Regions from separate parts of the Homo sapiens genome. Here regions 1, 3, 4, 5, 6 and 7 are each linked to region 2. The links are contacts of gene promoters, found by promoter capture Hi-C in blood cells and fetal thymus (Javierre and others, 2016). All regions are on one chromosome and are shown on one strand. The core of a region is centred on a gene start or on the middle of the fragment in contact, and the rest is flanking DNA. Distances in the headings are between cores, read along the strand shown.

The links. Contacts are between HindIII fragments. The CHiCAGO score rates a contact against its expected background, and 5 or more counts as called.
Region 1: a fragment that was not itself captured here is called in contact with the fragment with the promoter of GMCL1 in region 2 in 3 of 17 cell types (non-activated CD4 T cells, total CD8 T cells and total CD4 T cells); the score reaches 6.5 in non-activated CD4 T cells.
Region 3: a contact is called between a fragment that was not itself captured here and the fragment with the promoter of GMCL1 in region 2, in 2 of 17 cell types (neutrophils and naive CD8 T cells). The highest score is 6.7, in neutrophils.
Region 4: a contact is called between a fragment that was not itself captured here and the fragment with the promoter of GMCL1 in region 2, in 4 of 17 cell types (naive CD4 T cells, total CD8 T cells, naive CD8 T cells and 1 more). The highest score is 8.6, in naive CD4 T cells.
Region 5: a fragment that was not itself captured here is called in contact with the fragment with the promoter of GMCL1 in region 2 in 3 of 17 cell types (total CD8 T cells, naive CD8 T cells and total CD4 T cells); the score reaches 6.0 in total CD8 T cells.
Region 6: a fragment that was not itself captured here is called in contact with the fragment with the promoter of GMCL1 in region 2 in 1 of 17 cell types (fetal thymus); the score reaches 5.3 in fetal thymus.
Region 7: a fragment that was not itself captured here is called in contact with the fragment with the promoter of GMCL1 in region 2 in 2 of 17 cell types (fetal thymus and erythroblasts); the score reaches 5.4 in fetal thymus.

Annotation. Positions count from the first base shown.
Region 1 is chr2:69,499,364-69,502,063 of GRCh38, reverse strand. The region is part of intron 16 of AAK1 (AP2 associated kinase 1); the gene reads left to right. Among named protein-coding and RNA genes, the nearest start is that of SNORA36C, 19 kb to the left of the region's middle. The HindIII fragment of the contact is 548 bases long and covers 1,121-1,668 here.
Region 2 is chr2:69,828,387-69,831,086 of GRCh38, reverse strand. GMCL1 (germ cell-less 1, spermatogenesis associated) reads right to left here and starts at 1,427. Exons shown (of 14, transcript NM_178439.5): 1 at 935-1,427. The coding sequence starts at 1,194. It overlaps LOC124906021 (a long non-coding RNA gene), which reads left to right and starts at 1,556. Exons shown (of 2, transcript XR_007086846.1): 1 at 1,556-2,700. RefSeq lists silencers at 763-938, 886-965, 1,346-1,575 and enhancers at 549-1,469, 1,986-2,075, 1,470-2,391. The HindIII fragment of the contact is 7,336 bases long and covers 1-2,700 here.
Region 3 is chr2:70,165,801-70,168,500 of GRCh38, reverse strand. The region is part of intron 6 of C2orf42 (chromosome 2 open reading frame 42); the gene reads left to right. Among named protein-coding and RNA genes, the nearest start is that of C2orf42, 24 kb to the left of the region's middle. The HindIII fragment of the contact is 4,037 bases long and covers 1-2,700 here.
Region 4 is chr2:69,433,493-69,436,192 of GRCh38, reverse strand. All of the region lies in intron 1 of NFU1 (NFU1 iron-sulfur cluster scaffold), which reads left to right. Among named protein-coding and RNA genes, the nearest start is that of NFU1, 2.6 kb to the left of the region's middle. The HindIII fragment of the contact is 4,427 bases long and covers 1-2,700 here.
Region 5 is chr2:69,468,747-69,471,446 of GRCh38, reverse strand. AAK1 (AP2 associated kinase 1) reads left to right here. Exons shown (of 22, transcript NM_014911.5): 22 at 1-2,700. Among named protein-coding and RNA genes, the nearest start is that of NFU1, 33 kb to the right of the region's middle. The HindIII fragment of the contact is 2,984 bases long and covers 1-2,700 here.
Region 6 is chr2:70,218,532-70,221,231 of GRCh38, reverse strand. The region is part of intron 7 of TIA1 (TIA1 cytotoxic granule associated RNA binding protein); the gene reads left to right. Among named protein-coding and RNA genes, the nearest start is that of TIA1, 29 kb to the left of the region's middle. The HindIII fragment of the contact is 1,111 bases long and covers 698-1,808 here.
Region 7 is chr2:70,196,538-70,199,237 of GRCh38, reverse strand. No RefSeq gene overlaps it. Among named protein-coding and RNA genes, the nearest start is that of C2orf42, 6.9 kb to the right of the region's middle. The HindIII fragment of the contact is 1,775 bases long and covers 412-2,186 here.

The DNA.
Region 1 (2,700 bases), core at 145-2,644, 330 kb after region 2:
CAACACTTAGATTTATAAAATCTTCTGTTTTCTTTTTTATTCTTTACCTTTTGCTTTTATCTTTATTACATTTTCCTGTTTGTTTGTTTGTGTGAGATGGTGTCTCGCTCTGTTGCCTAGGCTGGAGTGCAGTGGTGGGATATCTGTTCACTGCAACCTCTGCCTCCTGGGTTCAAGCAATTCTCCTGTCTCAGCCTCCCAAGCAGCTGGGACAACAGTTGCACGCCACCGTGCCCAGCTAATGTTTTGTATTTTTAGTAGAGATGGGGTTTCACCATATTGGCCAGGCTGGTCTCAAATTCGTGACCTCAGGTGATCCACCCACCTCGGCCTCCCAAATGCTGGGATTACAGGCGTGAGCCACCTCGCCTGGCCATTTTCTTGTTTTTCTTATATTTGGTGATATTAAGAGGAACACATAGTAACATATTTTAAAATTCTTTTTTAAAAAATAAAGTACTTGGGCTGTGAGTTTTTCTTCACAATTTGACAGTCATTTTCACCCAGCACAAAAGTGGGGAGGGAGGCTAATTATAATCTTCAGGGAGGCTTTGTCATGTGAAAATATTCCAATGTCCTCCTTCCTCTTTCTCCAGTTGCCTCGCTTCAACCTTTGAAGATTACACTGTTTATTAAGAATGCTTTCTAATGAGTGTGTATTTCCCTAGTAAAAAAAAAAATGGGGTTTTGTGGAGCTTAACCATAGCTCATAAATATTCGTATGATATTCTCATTATTATTTTGGAGTTATGCTTTTCATCATTAAGTAGTTAAAAATTTTTGTTTCACTTTTAGCTTTGTTTGTGTAAATTGTATAAGTATATTGATATTTTGGTGAAATTTGAAAATGTTCCAAAACCAGTTCATGCTGCTTGAAGTTTGATGTGCCACATAGTTGACCAAACATATCAAATGTGTAAAGCATTGACTGTTGTCTTTGAAATAGAACATCAAAATGATGATTAGCCATGGACCTGGGTAGGATATAGTTTGTCTGGAAAGAGGGTCACAGAATAAGCCCTGAGAGTCTTCTTTGCTGCTGAGTCCCAGAATTTGGCACGATGTTTGGCTCCATACAGACGTGTTGAATGAATAAGAAGAGTTGCTTTGTGCCAAAGCTTAGGACCTTGGATTCAGCAGCGTTAACAATCGAGGTCCCTGATCATTTTCCATCTACTCACCCTACCAACCCCAGTTTTAATGCCTAGTTTTCATCTATTACACATGGTTATGTTTCACTGTTTGTATGAGCTGTTTTTTAATGAGGTTTATTTTGTTTTTGTTTCTGCCTTTCCACTACTTTATATTTACTCCAAAGGCTGCAAATGGTTGTGTGTGTGTGTGTGTGTGTGTGTGTGTGTGTGTATATATATATATATATATATATATATATATATATTTTAAGGGACTTAAAGGCACAGCTACAAACACATATTTGAGTAAAGTTATGACAGTAATAACATTGAACATGTATCAAGCACTTGAGGCATGTTAAACCCACTGGGTAAGCACTTTTCTTGCTCATTATCTCAGGTGATCCTCACAAAGACCACCTGCCCAAGGGCACAGCTGGAGAATGACAGAATAGAGATTTGTACCTGTAGCCCAGCTCAAAAACTGTAGTTATAACCACATCTCAGGAATCTCATAAACCAGCAACACTAAGCTTTTACAAACATTAAAAAGTGTCTTCATAGTTTCCTCAGTTTATCTGGTCTTTTTCTATCAACATTTGATATTTTCCCCTCTCTCTTGTTTGCAGTGTAAATGTTTCTTTTCTGTGACACCTTCATTCTTTACAAATGAAAGAAAATTACATCTAGATCCCAGGAACTCATTTGCTCTCGTTTGTACAAAGGGCAAGATGACATCATTTTCTATAAATTTTCTAACTGAACTCAGACTGTTTACAGATTTTAAACCTTCTGATTGATCAAAGGAGAAACTAAGCAGGAAATGTCATAATGGGTTCGGGAGGATGGCACGGGGCTATATTAAACATTTGTATGGTAAAAGCTGCAAAAATGACAGACTGTGTCTATACATTGGAGGAGAAACAGGCAAACATTTAAAACTTCACATGGTGCCTCTTTATTTTCATATGTTTTCCTGTGTATAATTTACACATGTTCATTTATAAAAATGTGGAGAAATGAATAAGGCCCAAAGTAAAGAAAATAAAATCTTATAACCCCACCTTGAGAGAAGAGCATTTGCTGACATTTTACAGTATTTGTATCTAGAATTTTATTTCTGCATATAAATTTTTTTCAAATATGACTTACACCGTATATTCAGTTTTGCAGTTTGCTTTTTTTCTTTTAAATATGTTTCATTGTGTCGTTTTAAAATATTTCAAGGACTTAAAAGCAGTTATTTTATCCTTCTTTTCCTCCTTCTACCTTTAAAGAAACTTAGTTTAAAACCCACTTTAATAACAAAATTATAGAGACTGAGAACAGAATAGTGGTTTCCAAAGAATAGTAACAGGAATAAGTGGTGGGTGTCACTACAAAGGAGTAGAATGAGGAGGTCTTTGGTTTCATGGAACAGTTCTGTATCATGATTGCAGTGGTGCTCATTCTAATCTATACGGAGAATCAAGTTGCGAAGAACTATACACACAGGTTGGGGGAAGTGAAAGTCCCAGAGGGAACTAGGGGCCCCAGAAGGGAGTGCTTTAAAGGCTGAGAAATACGG
Region 2 (2,700 bases), core at 178-2,677:
ATTAGCCAGGCGTGGTGGTGCGCGCCGGTAGTCCCAGCTACTCGGGAGGCTGAGGCACAAGAATCGCTTGAACCAGGAGGTGGAGGTTGCAGTGAGTTGAGATCGCACCACTGCACTCCGGCCTGAGTGACAGAGCAAGGCTCTGTCTCAAAAAGAAAAAGAAATCATTTAAAAAATTTCATGTGTGACCCTACCAAATAACCTTTAAAAACAAAAGCAGAAAAACCAAATTGTTTGTGTAAGCATATATTCTACCTATAAACTACATTCCAGGTCACAAGTCAATATTCCATCTTTCAACTCATCCAAAAAAAAAAAAAAAAGGGGTTAAACAAGCTGCAGCAGCACCGCCCTACATACAGTACATCCACGGTCAACGACTTCATCAACTACTAGAAACTTGCACAGACTCTGTTCCTAGTTAGGAACAAATGTACACTATTGATAAACTTCACCTTTACAATTAACAAGAACTCCTGTGTGCAATTACTTACCCTCCACTGAGTGGGCGACAATAAGAGTGCCTATTTCAGAGATTACATTTAGTGTCTGTACTAAGGCAACCGGATGCAAAACAACTTACTCTGCGGCTACCCACTTGAGAGGGCAAAGGTGGACTGGGAAGGCCAGCCAGCCGGGCGTCTCTAAGGTTTAACGAGACGCGAGCTCGGGCTTGGCGTTTCTCATCCTCATCTTGGGGCTGTAACAACACCCTGGAAGCGTCTGTGGTTGAAAATGCGGAACACCTGGCGTCTCCCAAGGCGCTCCCCAGTCCGCCCCGCATCGGGCCGGCTTCCACATTCACCCTGTCAAGGGCACGTCCCCTCTCCATAGGCTGGGGAGCGCTGCACCCCGCAAGCGCACGAGGCGCCGGCTCGGCCCCAGGCCCAACAGGTGCGGGTCCGGGTCCGCGCGGGTGCGTGCCCCCACGTACCTTCGAGGGGTGTTGAGGAGCCGCTGCTGCTCGTCCCCCTCCTCCTCATCCTCGTCCGTCTCCGAGTCAGGGTGACAGTAGCAGAAGGACCCGCTGCTCCGCTTGCGCTTGTGGCTGCCCGCACAGTAACAGAATCCGTGGCCCGCCGCATCGTCTCCAGTGTCCGGCCTCCGGGCCGAGCCCCCCGCCCTGGCACCCTGCGCCTGCTGGGCAAGGGCTGGTCTTGGCTGGCGCAGCACCCGGCTGCTCAACGATCCCATGGGTCACGGCTCCCCGAGACTTCAGGGAGCCCAGAGAAGGGGGTCTCCCGCCATGGCTCGGCCGCCGCCGCCAGCCTTCCCCGAGCGCAGGTGCCTACACCGCCACCTTCTCACGCGCAGCCCCAACCGTTGCAGCGGACGCCACAGTCTCCATCCTCTTCCCCGCCCGCAGCGTCCGGTCGCGCCGCGCTCTAGCACCGCAGCACCTCGCCCCCTCGCTTTCGCAACAAAGCGCGGGACGGAGGGCGCATGCGTACGGCGAGCCTCCGGAAGGGGCGGGGCAAGGCGTGCGTGCGTGGCAGGTGGAGCCTGCGCACAATCCGGCGCGCCAGTGCAGGCTGGTGTTTTCGGGCCTGCGGTGGGCGTGGCCTCTGACTAACCCGAACTTCGGCGTAGACGTAGTGTTAAACCGTGGTTCATACGCGCCTCTGTAGTGGCAAGACCTGGGACTCCAGTCACTCATTGTTTCTACAAAGGTGCCTTGAGTCCCCGGTGCTTATGGGCCTGTGCTAAGCTAGTGGCAAAACCCCGAAGCTATTTGGTCTCCTTGCGGGAGCTCGGCGCTTGCTGGGGCCACGCTCTGCTTGCTTGGGCGTGGCCTCCTGTGAGAGGGGGCCCTAGGATGAGGCGATATGCTGGATTCCTGGGCTTCCTTAACATGAGCCCTCCCCTGCTGTAGACGTGAATGGAACCCGTTAAGTTATGGGAACGTTCCCGGCACTCCTTTCCTTTCCTCTCAAGTGCCAGTGGGATGTCCGAATAGGGTCTGGCACCATGACTGTCTGGACTCAAAAGTGCCTTCAGGAGGCCCTAGCAAAATTTACTAGTGTCTGCTTGGAGTAGTAGCAGCTCTTGTGATGGACTCCGGACAGCCAGCGTTCATTCCCTGACTCCCTTCTGTTACTTTTTAAGTAAAATAATGAAAATATTTCAAATAGAGTAATACAGATTCCTGTGGACCGACCACTAGCTTGAAATTTTATCAGACTTGCTTTCATTCTTTTTTCCTCCCAGCTTTATTGAGGTGTAATCAATGATTCATTCTTTTTTAAATAGAACAATACATATAGGCAGAAGCCCCTGCGTACCTCCTCCATCTCATTCTGTCTCCCTCCCCAGTGGCAATCACTGTGCTGAGAATGTTGTATATCATGTCCATGCATGTCCTTATATGCATACCCATAAATAATATTTTCTTTTGCATGTTTAGACATATCATGGAATGGAATCATAGTTGTACCTCTCATTGTGCACCTTTCTCCTCTCTCAAAATTATACTCTCAAGATTTATCCATTTGGTCAATCGCTAGATAATTTTCACTGCTCATTGTATGACTGACCCATATTTGTTTTTACATTCCTTAGTGAGAGAGGTTATTTCTACTTTAACGGCCTTACAGAGCAGCAATGAACATCATGTGCAATGGATTCACCAAGCAGATTCCCAAAAGTGAATTTGCTGCGAAATCTGCAACTTTGTTAGCTATTACCAAATTGCTCTCTGGG
Region 3 (2,700 bases), core at 43-2,542, 340 kb before region 2:
CTGGCTAACACAGTGAAACCCCATCTCTACTAAAAATACAAAAAAATTAGCCAGGTGTGGTGGCGGGTGCCTGTAGTCCCAGCTACTCGGGAGGCTGAGGCAGGAGAATGGCGTGAACCCAGGAGGTGGAGCTTACAGTGATCTGAGATTGCACCACTGCACTCCAGCCTGGGTGACTAAGTGAGACTCCATCTCAAAAAAAAAAAAAAAGGATCCTATAGCTGGGCATGGTGGCAGAGGCCTGTAGTCCCAACTACTCAGGAGGCTGAGGTAGGTGAATCACTTGTCGCCCAGGCTGGAGTGCAGTGGCGTGATCTTGGCTCACTGTAATCTCCACCTCCCAGGTTCAAGCAATTCTCCTGCCTCAGCCTCCCAAGTAGCTGGGATTACAGGCACGCACCACCATGCCTGGCCAATTTTTTGTATTTTTAGTAGAGATGGGGTTTCACCATGTTAACCAGGCTGGTCTTGAACTCCTGACCTCAGGTGATCCACCTACCTCGGCCTCCCAAAGTGCTGGGATTACAGGCGTGAACCACCGTGCCCAGCCCAGAAAACAGAATATTGATAATACTATAAGCTAAACACTTGTAGTCCTCTTCCATCCCATCCTATTCCCTCTTCCATCCCATTCCTGTACCACCCTCTATTCCATCTTACCATCTCCATTACTACCACCTTTGTCCAGGTTTCCATCAGCTCGCTCCTTGACTATGAGTGTGTGTGTTTTACCTTTTTGAAGTTAATTCTTTTTTATTTTTTGAGACAGTCTTGCTCTGTCACACAGGCTGGAGTGCAGTGGTACAATCTCAGTTCACTGCAACCTCCACCTCCCAGGCTCAAGAAATTCTCGTGTTTCAGCCTCCTGAGTAGCTGGGATTATAGGCATGTGTCACCACTCCTGGCTAATTTTTGTATTTTTAATAGAGACAGGGTTTCACCATGTTGGCCAGGCTGGTCTCGAACTTCTGACCTCAAGTGATCCGCCTGCCTAGGCCTCCCAAAGTGTTGGAATTACAGGTGTGAGCCACCACACCTGGTCTGGACAGAATTTTTAAGAAAGACTGAACTCACTTGACCCCCTCCCCTTAACTCTTTTTGTTGACCTAATGTCTGACAAGTTTCTTTTCTTTTTTTTTTTTTGAGACAGAGTCTCACTCTGTCGCCCAGGCTGGAGTGCAGTGGCGTGATCTTGGCTCACTGCAACCTCCGCCTCCCAGGTTCAGGCGATTCTCCTGCCTCAGCCTCCCAAGTAGCTGGGACTACAGGCGCATGCCACCATGCCCGGCTAATTTTTTGTATTTTTAGTAGAGATGGAGTTTCACCATGTTAGCCAGGATGGTCTCAATTTCCTGACCTGGTGATCCACCTGCCTCATCCTCCCAAAGGGCTGGGATTACAGGTGTGAGCCACTGTGCCTGGCCGCAAGGTTCTTTAAGAGGTTGGTTAAGTACTTTCAAGTATTTTACCTGCCTTGAGGTCATATTCAGAGAGAAAGACAGATGCTTGCTGGGTAAGCAGTGTCCTAACTTGTAGTCCCTCAGCATTCATGGTGCTGACCATCGGGTGAGAGAGCATGTCATTAGTTTGCTTAGACATGAATGCAAATAGCAAGAACCTGGGGATAGCGAGCAAAAGGGAATCAAGTGGAGGCAGCCACCTCGGCCTCATTGTTCTCATCCCATCTTACTTCGCATACCCTTTAAGGGGGAAAGTCTGTGCTGTGTTGGTCTTTTTAAAATTTGCGGATTTGAAATGTTATACTTGGTGGATGACAAGGGTCTACTGTGTTGGTTTGTTTTTTCATTGTCTTTTTTCTTTTTTTTCAGTGGAGTCTCACCCTGTTGCCCAAGCTAGAGTGCAGTGGCATGATCTCGGCTCACTGCAACCTCTGCCTCCTGGGTTCAAGCGATTCTCCTGCCTCAGCTTCCTGAGTAGCTGGAATTACAGGCACACACCACCATGCCCAGCTAATTTTTTTTTTTTTTTTTTTTTTTAGTAGAGATGGGTTTTCACCATGTTGGCCAAGCTGGTCTCGAACTCCTGACCTCAGGTAATCCACCCACCTCGGCCTCCCAAAGTGCTGGGATTACAGGTGTGAGTCACCACGCCTGGCCTCTCTTTTCTTTTCTTTTTTTTTCCTTTTTGAGGGAGGGTCTCACTCTGTTGCCCAGGCTGGAGTGCAGTGGCGTGATCATGGCTTACTGCAGCCTCAACCTCCTCGACTCAGTTGATCCTCCCACCTCAGCCTCCCAAGTAGCTGGGACAGCAGGTGCATACCACCACGCCTGGCTAATTTAAAAAAAAATTTTGGCCAGGCACGGTGGCTCACGCCTGTAATCCCAGCACTTTGGGTGGCCGAGGTGGGTGGATCACGAGGTCAGGAGTTTGAGACCAGCCTGGCCAACATGGTGAAACCCCATCTCTACTAAAAATACAAAAATTAGCCAGGCGTGGTGGTGCACGCCTGTAGTCACAGCTACTCAGGAGGCTGAGGCAGGAGGATTGCTTGAACCCGGGAGGCAGAGGTTGCAGTGAGCCGAGATCATGCCATTGCACTCCAGCCTGGGCAACAGAGTGAGACTCCATCTCAAAAAAAAAATTTTTTTTTATAGACACTGGGTCTTTCTTTGTTGCCCAGGCTACACTGTGTTTTTTATGTTTGCAAGGGATCAACAGTAGGACTAGTGACAGTTCTTG
Region 4 (2,700 bases), core at 62-2,561, 390 kb after region 2:
TAGAGATGAAGAACTGAGGCCATTGTGCTAGCAGCTAGAAATGAAGATAGTTTCTCCCCTTAATGAGTATGCAGTCTAGCAAGAAAAATATATTAACAAATAATGACAGTCATGAGTGCTGTAATAGATTCATGTAATTTAAAGTGGTGTGCCGGGCGTGGTGGCTCACGCCTGTAATCCCAGCACTTTGAGAGGTCAAGCTGGGCGGATTGGCTGAGGTCAGGAGTTCGAGACCAGTCTGGCCAACATGGTGAAACTAAAAAAAAAAAAAAAAAAGCTGGGCGTGGTGGTGTGTGCCTGTAATCCCAGCGAGTTGGGAGGCTGAGGCAGGGGAATTGCTTGAACCAGGGAGGTGGAGGTTGCAGTGAGCCAAGATCACGCCACTGCACTTCAGCCTGGGTGACAGAGTGAGAAAAGCGAGATTATTTCCATCTCAAAATAAAGTGGTGACAGCTCTTACTGTGATCAACACTGGAGCTAGTGTGGGGAGTGGCAGTCAGGACTTCACAGATTATTTGATTCCCATTCAGTGTTGATTCCATTGTTCTCTTGAATCCTCGGTGCCAATCCTTTTATCTCTCCAATAGCATCTAAGAAACTCTATGGGTTACAGTCCCACAGTATCCCAGTAGTCTTTTGCTTATCAATGGCATATAAAGATTATTGAAGGTAGTAAACAGTTCATCTGTATTTTGTTAATACTTAATTGGTGCCCACTCTTTCTTTTCCACGAGAAGAATTCCAGTTTTGTGAGAGAGAGAAAAAAATGTGGCAGCCGCTGTTGCTTCTTGCCTATTTTAAGCAGAAGATAATTAGATAAATGTGATCTTGTGTATGATCACAAACAATTTTGGCCTTTGGAAAAAATTTTAACAGAAAATTATGACAGTGAAAGACCGTTCTAACTGACCATCATTTTGCCTTTAACCTCTAGACTGCCCATTCCCGGGCTTGGGCCAAGCTAACTTTGGGAGACATTTAGTTTATAGTTTAAATGATAATAGCCCTTTCCCAAAATTAAACCACCTTTATAAAGCTAATGAAAGACCACCAGGTTTGGAGGATGAGAGGAGCCTGAATTCTGCTAAGGTGTAGATGTAAATGATTACCAGCCATTATTCTGGCGGTCCTAAGAGTTGCAACTTCCCCAATTACTCCTGCAGAAAACATCTCTCTTGTAGAACCTAAGATTAGCCTTTTCAGGTTTTTGCATTTCTGACTGGTCCTGTGGCCCCGCCCACAAACGGGCTGAGCACTCAGGAGGATCATTTTCCGCACCCCTATGATTGCATCCCCAACCAGTCAGCAACACCCGTTCCCTGGCCTGCCAGTCTATCCTTGAAAACCCCTAGCCTCAGATCCAGAGAGACTGAGTACTAAAACTCCACTCTCCCTTTCAGCTGGCTCCATGTGAATTAAACTCTTTATTGCAAATCCCCTGTCTTGATGAATTAGCAGTATCTGGACAGTGGGCAAAGTGAACCCATTGGCAATTATAAATGACTCCTGTACTTAAAATTTTTCTATGGCTCCTATGAAGTGGCAGTGGTAATGGATAGCGATGATATTTTCAAGTAAACCGGATTTTAAAGTAAATTGCATTGGGATTTTAAGAATTTTTACTATTAAAGTCTCCTTTTACTTCCTTTTCCAGTAATATTTGCTTTCATTTTCTTCCTTTGTTTTCAGTTTGTCAAAGCCATAAAAAATAGCCAATTAAGTTTTCTCTGTAAGAGTGAAGTAAAGTTAGAGGCCTGGCGCTGTGGCTCACGCCTGTAATCCCAGCACTTTGGGAGGCCGAGGCTAGTGGATCATGAGGTCAGGAGTTCAAGACCAGCCTGGCCAAGATGGTGAAACCCTGTCTCTACTAAAAATACAAAAATTAGCCGGGCATGGTGGTGGGCATCTATAATCCCAGCTACTTGGGAGGCTGAGGCGGAGAATTGCTTGAACCCAGGAGGCGGAGGTTGCAGTGAGCCAAGATCGCACCACTGCACTCCATCCTGGGCGACAGAGCAAGACTCCGTCTCACAAAAAAAAAAAGAAAAAAAAAAGTGAAGTGAAGTTACAACACTGGGTTAATATGTTTCCATCCAAAAAGCATATAAAAGGCAGGGCATGGTGGCTCACGCCTATAATCCCAGCACTTTGGGAGGCCAAAGTGGGAGGATTACTTGAGCCAGGAGCTGGAGATCAGCCTGAGCAACATAGTGGTAATCCATCTCTACCAGAAGTAAAAAAAAAAAAAAAAACTAGCTGGGCATGGTGGCATACAGCTGTAGTGTCACCTACTTGGGAGGCTGAGGTGGGAGAATCACTTGAGCCTAGGATGTTGAGGCTGCAGTGAGCCCTGATCACACCATTGTACTCCAGCATGGGTGACAGAACAAGACCCTGTCTCAAAACAAAACACGAAAAGCGTGATCAAGATCGTTGGCTGTGTAATCCCAGCATTTTGGGAGGCCAAGGCAGGTGGATCACTTTAGGTCAGGAGTTGGAGATCAGCCTGGCCAACGTGGTGAAACCCTGTCTCTACTAAAAATATAAAAATTAGCCGGGTGTGATGGTGTACACCTGTAATCCCAGCTACTAGGGAGGCTGAGGCAAGAGAATCACTTGAACCCAGGAGGTGGAGGTTGCAGTAAGCTGGGATCGCATCACTGCACTCCAGCGTGGGCGACAAAGTGAGACTCAGTCTCA
Region 5 (2,700 bases), core at 196-2,695, 360 kb after region 2:
AAGGCTATAATTTTATCAACACAAAGTCAGCCTTTTCTTTTTCCACATTAGTAATGTTTCTGAAGTTGGATGTGCTTAGATTTCTTAAATCAGAATGAGTGCTAGGAAATCTATAACAAGAAACCTCTTTTGCTTCTCCCAGATTTCCTTTCACTAATACGGGATAGGGAGGCTCCTTGGGTAATGCTAACCTATGCAAAGAAGTTACCAAATGGTGGTAGTTGCTAGAATTAAAGACACGTTCTTGGTTCACACTTTGATGTAGTGACCTGAATTTACTCTTTTCCTGTGAGTATTCTACTCTGCCCTATTGCACTCTCCTTTGTCATGTGGATGTGTGTTTATCATAGGTCTTTAACGCGTCCTTCCCAAGAAGACAAAGCATACAGTTGTACATGAAGATATCTTATGCAGTAAAAACGTGAAATTTGAACATTGCTGCACAAGTATTGTATAAAAAAAAGTCTGTAAAGAACTTTCTTATGTAAACATACAGGGGAATAAAGACTTTTATCTGTTCAAATGGGAGCATGATGTTTAGAGATGTAAATAACTTAAAATAAGTTGCTCTTTTCCTGAGCTGAAAACCCACTTTTTTGCAGAAAGGATTTAATCACAGTATTGAGTGACAATAAGTACCTGGGCACAAGAAAAGTATAGCTACACACTGAGGACATATTAATGAATCATGGCTACCTGAGAGAGTAAAACCCCTGTTTTAGTCTCAAGGAGAATAAGACGCCTGCCAGCCTACACTGGATATGACCAGACTCAGGGTTGTAAAATGGAGCGCAGGTTTGCAGCTTCCCTCCTCTAACTTAATCCCTAATATACCCAGGCCAACTTAATTAAACATTTTGTGTTGGCAAGAATAATTTTATCCCCAGTGAGAAAACTCACTCATTTAATTGCCTCATTGGCCTGAGAGGCACAGCTGGCCATTTTTGGCTTCCATGAGGTCCCTCATTTCCCAGTCGTGGGTTTTAATGCAGCTACCTAATATATGGTGGAACCAAATGCTTAATTTTGTTATGTGAGCTAGAAGGTCATGGTAATTATTAGTTTGATGTACGTCTCTTGATTTCCCCAGTTTGGTTCTAAAATTTTACGTTTCAATTGCTGCTGCATTTCCAAGTTCTTGTGAAGGGATATTTTGCTTTCTGTTTACTAACTATATGTGAGAAGGCTTCTTCTCAATGCTCCAAGTCTTCGTTTTCTGTTTTTGGCAAGAATCATATCTTTGATACTCCCTGTAACCGTTCTTTCAGTTTTTGGTATGAGGAAAAGTAAACTTCTGGTGTTGTGTGATGTATTTCATTAAGGAATATCCAGCCTGACATTTAAGTCTTCAGATTTTAATTCTGTAGGGAGCATTCTGATGGCCCTCACTATGTCAATCAGATGGAGTTTCCAGGGGAAACCCATCCTAAATGATTCAGCACTTTGGGTTGCTTTGGAAGTGAATAGGGAGCTGGTGAGGATAGTTGCCAAGTTGTCAGGTATTTTAGGAACTCCTTCTCTTCCCTGAAGCATGTGAGTTCTTGCTGAAATCTACATAATTTGGAGCCTCAAAATAGACTAATATGGAGTTACCCATATTGAAAGTGTCAACGTGCCTAACCTGGCACACAGTCCTACATCAGAGCAAGAAAAAGAAGTATGTTTTGACTTCTTGCTTAATTTTATGTGTGAAACCAAAATAAAAAGAGGCATGATCCAGTTTGAGGGAATTATAACAAAACCCTACGTTAGGCTCTATGATAAGTAAGACCCTGTGCAGACTATGAAGCCAGGCCCTGGGCTTTAGCCCCTGAGGTACAACAGGCAGTGTTTACTGAGCTCTATGGCCACAGGGTATCTGCTATGACGTGCCATTGGTTACCAAAGGAACTGGGTCAAGGCATGTGGTTAGGTTAGTATAAATCCTTCAATGCTAGTAAAGAGACTGCTTCAAACACGTTTTCTTGTTGACACAATGCTACCTTCATATAAAGGAACTGTTCACCCTGAAAACACATTTTCCCTGTAAGAACACATTCACATACTCAAAAAAAGACTTTTATCTGCCAACAAGATTTAATGGTTACCTTCTGTTTCTAGTATATTTGGAATTTATCCTTCTCTCGACTACCTTGTTTCTGGTGCTGCCACCACCAGAATTCCTTAAGGGAATGTGGAGGTCTGGGCTTCCCCCATATTCTCTGGCATTTCTTTGCCCTTCAGAGTGCCAGGCCTGGAGAGTTGCAAAGTGTGGTTGCTCTCCGCCTCAGCCACACTGTACCTCCTCTAACAAGAATAGAAAGGTTAAGGGACTTGGCCTTCTCAGGACAACCCTTTAAATGTACTTTTCCATTCCTACAAAGCCTGTTGATGCTGAAAGAAAGATAGGAAATAGCTCTTGTCCTTGTTTTGAAGGACAGGAGACTAATTTTCCCTTCAAACTTGATATTCTGGTGTTTTTGTGACTGTTTTTGTAAATTATTCAAAGTTGTTGGAATTTTAAGTCTGATTTTCCCAGTACTCATCATGAAGGTCATAGAATATGCTCTGAGTTGGAAGGTTTTCCAAATGGGTTCTCGACCAAAAACCCACTTTTTAACAAATAATTTTGATGGGTTAGACATGTTCTTCCATCCTCTCCAACCCTGAATATGGGCACATACACACACCCCTTGGTACTTCCTAGTTCTCAAAATGTAA
Region 6 (2,700 bases), core at 4-2,503, 390 kb before region 2:
AGTTCGAGACCAGCCTGACCAACATGGTGAAACCCCGTCTCTACTAAAAATAGAAAAATTAGCCAGGCATGGTGGCACACGCCTGTAATCACGGCTACTCAGGAGGCTGAGGCAGGAGAATCGCTTGAACCTGGGAGGCAAAGGTTGCAGTGAGCTGAGATTATGCCACTGCACTCCAGCCTGGGCAACAGAGTGAGACTCCGTCTCAAAAATATATATATATATTTTTTTGTAGGAACAATCTCACTTTGTTGCCCAGTCTGGCCTCGAACTCCTGGCTTCCACCAGTCCGCCCGCCTTGGCCTCCCAAAGTGGTGGGGTTATAGGCATGAGGCACCGTTCCTGGCCATCTAGTATCTCTTAATCAAAACCACTGTTTATCCTCACATCCCTTCCCTAACTGTATCCCCATTTCTTGGCTATAATTCTCAAGAGTTGTTTGCATATGCTTCTACTTTATCTCCCATTCACAACCACCAACATAGATACATCTCTGTTTTTTTTCCACTTTTTTGAGTGAGTAGTTTTATTTTTTTCCTGAGGAGCTGTATCAAAGTATCATAAACTGGATGGCTTAGAGCAACAAAAATTTATTTTCTCAATGTTTTGGAGGCGTGAAATTCACAATCAAGGTGTCAGCATGTCCATGCTCTTTTGAAGGCTCTGTAGAAGAATCCTTTGTTGCTTCTTCCAAGCTTCTGGTGGTTGCTGGTAATTCTTGGCATTCATTGGCTTGTAGCTGTATAACTCCAATCTCTGCCTTCATCTTCACATGACCATCTTCTCTCTTTGTGTATCCATATAATCATCATCTTTTTTTTTCGAGACAGGACCTCACTCTGTCACCCAGGCTGGAGTGTGGTGGCACAATCACAACTCACTGCAGCCTTGACCTCCCAGGCTTAGGTGATCTTTCCATCACAACCTCCTAAGTAGCTGGGACTACAGGTGTTGCAACACCATGCCCAGCTAATTTTTCTATTTTTTGTAGAGACAGGATTTTGTCATGTTGTCCAGGCTGGTCTCGAACTCCTGGGCTCATGATCCACCTGCCTCGGCCTCCCAAGTGCTGGGATTATAAGTGTGAGCCACCGTGCCCAGTCTGATCTTTACTTCTTATGAGGACTTGAGTCATTGGATTTGGGGCCCACCTTAATCCAGTATAACCTCATCTTAATTACTTCGGCAAAGACCCTGTTTCCAAATAAGGCCATATTTCACAGATACCAGGGTATAGGACTTCATATCGTTTTGAGGGACACAATTCAACACATAACATTAGTTAAGCGTCTCATGGAGTTCGGACTGGTTGGGGTGATAATATTTGTTTCTTTTTAAGAATGTGCATTTCCTGCCAGGCACAGTGGCTCATTCCTGTAATAACAGAACTTTGGGAGGCCAAGGCAGGAGGAGGACTGCTTGAGCCCAGGAGTTAGAAACCAGCCTGGGCAACAGCAAGACCCTGTCTCCATTAAAAAAAAAAAAAAAAAAAAGCCTGGCGACCTAGTCTGTGGACCCCGAATCCCTCCCATTGCCTGTTGCAACCAGTAAAGGCTGTTCCTACCATAGTAAAGAAATTAAAAAAATAAAAAAAACAGCCAACCTTGTTGGTGCATGCTTATAGTCCTAGCTACTAGGAGGCTGAGGTGGGAGTATCACTTGAGCCCAAGGAGTTCAAGGCTACAGTAAGCTGTGATCATGCCTGGATGACAGAATAAGACCCTATTTAATTTTTTTTTAAAGCATTTCGTTTTCATATTTCAAGAAAGGCCTTGAATTTGCCTGTTCCTTCAGTAGTAGATTAAGCTTACCTTTGATGTGTGCACACAAAAGTTACACTCCATTTACTTTTTAGTCTACTCTAAGCTGGTTTTACTCTCACTTTGTACCAATGCTACTCTATTTTCAAGGTCACCTCTTAACCTCTGTTTTCTTGGCTCCCTGGACCATACACTTTTGTGGCTTTCTTCCTTCATCACTGGCTACTCCTCCCTAGTCACCTTAGCTAGTGATTATTCCTTTACCCATTTTTCAAGTTTTGCTGTTTTTCAGGGCTCTGTCCTAGGCTCTTTCTCTAGTCTGCATGAATTTTGTATCTTCAGTCTACTTCTCTGCGTTCCACATTTATTAACAAATGGTCTTCATTTATATGTCTCACAGGCATCTCAAAGTTTTTTCTTAATGGAGCTTTTTGTTTCTTCCTCAGACCTGTTCCCCTTTTCTTTCCTAGTCTTTCTCCGCATTTCAATAAATGCTGTCTTTCCAATTTCTCTAGAGGAACCTAAGAGTTATCTTTTCTCTCCTTTTGCTTGTGGTGTCCCCTCCAGCCCCCATTATTTTGGCCTTGAGTTTAAGTTACATTCACTGCTACTGCAATGCTCCTGGCCACCAACACTTTTTAAAAATCTAGAATATTGCACAAGTTTCATAAAGTATCTTTATCCCCTTACTACCCATTATCCTAAGCCATTCTCCTCTTAGCGCTAAGAATGGCCTTCTTGCCGGGTGCGGTGGCTCACGCCTGTAATCCCAGCACTTTGGGAAGCCAAGGCAGGCGGATCACGAGGTCAGGAGATGGAGACCATCCTGTCTAACACGGTGAAACCCTGTCTCTACTAAAAAAGAAACCCTGTCTCTACTAAAAAATACAAAAAAAAATTAGCCGGGCTTGGTGGCTGGCACCTGTACAGGAGAATGGCA
Region 7 (2,700 bases), core at 50-2,549, 370 kb before region 2:
TATTTATTTAAAACCTGTCCTCCCCACTAAACTAAAGTACTGATGACTATTTCCTTTTTTTTTTTTTTTTTCTTTGAGACAGAGTCTTGCTCTGTCTCCCAGGCTGGAGTGCAGTGGCACAATCTCGGCTCACTGAAACCTCTACCTCCAGGGTTCAAGTGATTCTTCTGCCTCAGCCTCCCAAGTAGCAGGGATTACAGGTGCATGCCACCACGCCTAGCTAATTTTTGTATTTTTAGTAGAAACGGGGTTTCACCATGTTGGCCACGCTGGTCTCGAACTCCTGCCCTCAAGTGATCTGCCAGCCTCAGCCTCCCAAAGTGCTGGGATTACAGGCATGAGCCACTGCTCCTGGCCTGGTGACTATTTCTTCAATGCCATAATATCCAGTACATGGTAAATAATAAAGCTTAATAAATGTTGAATTAATTGATTAATGAATGAGTTAATTAAATTGTTATTTCAAACAATCTAGTTTTGACCAAATGGCTTTCCACCTCGTGTGGACAGTACTACCAGCTGGAGTACTGGGAGTAAGTTAATAAAAAGCTGGCATTGAAGGACCAAATCAGGGCCAAGTTCTTTAAGCCATGTGATGTCATTTAAACTTTTTTTATCCTGAAGACCCCAGGGAGCCACTGATCCAATTTGTATTTAGTCAAGACGTGTTCCAGGTTGCAGACTTGATGAGCAGTTAGATGCATGGTGGATCCTTAGTTACTGGGATGTGAGAAGGCAGAGAAGCATGTTTGTGAGAGTGAGTAAGGACAGGAGCTATCATGGTGAGAGAGCAGGAGATGAGAGCAAATTAGTCTTACCTTTTTTTTTTTCAGACAGAGTCTCACTCTGTTGCCCAGGCTGGAGTGCAGTGTGTGATCTCGGCTCACTGCAGCCTCCGTCCGCCTCCTGGGTTCAAGCAATTCTCGTGCCTCAGCCTCCCAAGTGGCTGGGATTACAGGTATGTGCCACCACACCCAGTTAATTTTTGTATTTTGGGTAGAGACGGGGTTTCGCCATGTTGGCTAGGCTAGTCTTGAACTCCTGACCTCAGGTGATCCGCCTGCCTTGGCCTCCCAAAGTGCTGGGATTACAAGCGTGAGCCACCTCGCCTGGCCTTATCTTTCGATATGTGAGATTGGACGTGGGTGACACAGGTAGAAATATCCAGTAGGTAATGACATGGAATTTCGGAGGGTGATCTGGGCTGGATATAGAAATGGGAATCGTCTGTGTTTACGTGTTAGTTCAACCCTTGGAGTAGAGATCACCAAGTGAGATGAGGACTGTGGATAAAACTCAGGATCATTAGTGTTCAAGGAGGCAGAGGCAGGCCGGGTGCGGTGGCTCATGCCTGTAATCCCAGCAATTTGGAAGGCTGAGGTGGGCAGATCACTTGAGCCCAGGAGTTCAAGACCAGCCTGGGCAACATAGCAAGACCTCATCTCTACAAAAAATTAAAAAAAAATAGCCAGGCATGGTGGCATGTGCCTGTGGTTCCACCTGCTCAGGAGGCTGATGTAGGAGGATCATTTGCGTCCAGGAGGTTGAGACTGCAGTGAGCTGTGATCATGCCTCTGCACTGCAGCCTGGGCAACAAAACAAGACCCTGTCTCAAGAAAAAAAAAAAAGAGAATTCATGTGTTTTTGTGCATGTCTATACTGTTTTTCTAGGATACTTAGAAATTGAATGGGTTAAGGAAATGTGAATTGTAAAAATTGTATTGTATAGTGCCAAATTACCCTCTTAAAATGCTGTATATCAAAAAAAAAAAAAAAAAAAAAAAGGCTGTATACCAGCTGGGAGCGGTGGCTCACATCTATAATCCCAGCACTTTGGGAGGCCAAGGCAGGTGGATTCCCCCGAGGTCAGGAGTTCGAGACCAACATGGTGGTTGGTCAACATGGTGAAACCCTGTCTCTACTAAAAATACAAAAATCAGCCAGGCGTGGTGGCGCACACCTGTAGTCCCAACTACTGGGGAGGCTGAGTCAGGAGAATTGCTTGAACCTGGGAGGTGGAGGTTGTAGTGAGGCAAGATTAGGTCATTGCACTCCAGCCTGGCTGACAGAGCGAGACTTCATCTCAGAAAAAAAAAGGTCATATACCGTTTTACGCTCCAACCATTTATGTCAGAAAGCTCTTATTTCCCTTACATTCCTTCACCAATGCTGGTTGTTATCAAGCTTTTATCTTTTGCCAATCCAATGAATGTAAAATAATCTCTTTAGCTGTATTTCCCTGATTACAAGTAAAGTTAGTCATTTTTCATGATAATTGGCCATTTGTATTTATTTCTGTGAGATATCTGTTCATATCCTTTGTCTATTTCTTCATTAGATTGTTTCACTGTTTTTTTTTATCAATTAGTAAGAATCCCTTATATAGTTTGATATGCAAAAATCCTCTCTGAAAAAATGTGTCCTCCACCGAGGTCACTCAGGATTACCTCAGATTAAAATAATCATTTGAAGCCAGGTGTGGTGGCTCACACCTGTAATCCCAGCACGTTGGGAGGCTGCGGTGGGTGAATCACAAGGTCAAGAGATCAAGATCATCTGGCCAACATGGTGAAACCCTGTCTCTACTAAAAATACAAAAATTAGCTGTGTGTGGTGGTACATGCCTGTAGTCCCAGCTACTTGGGAGGCTGAGGCAGGAGAATCACTTGAACCCAGGAGGCGGAGGTTGCAGTGAGCCGA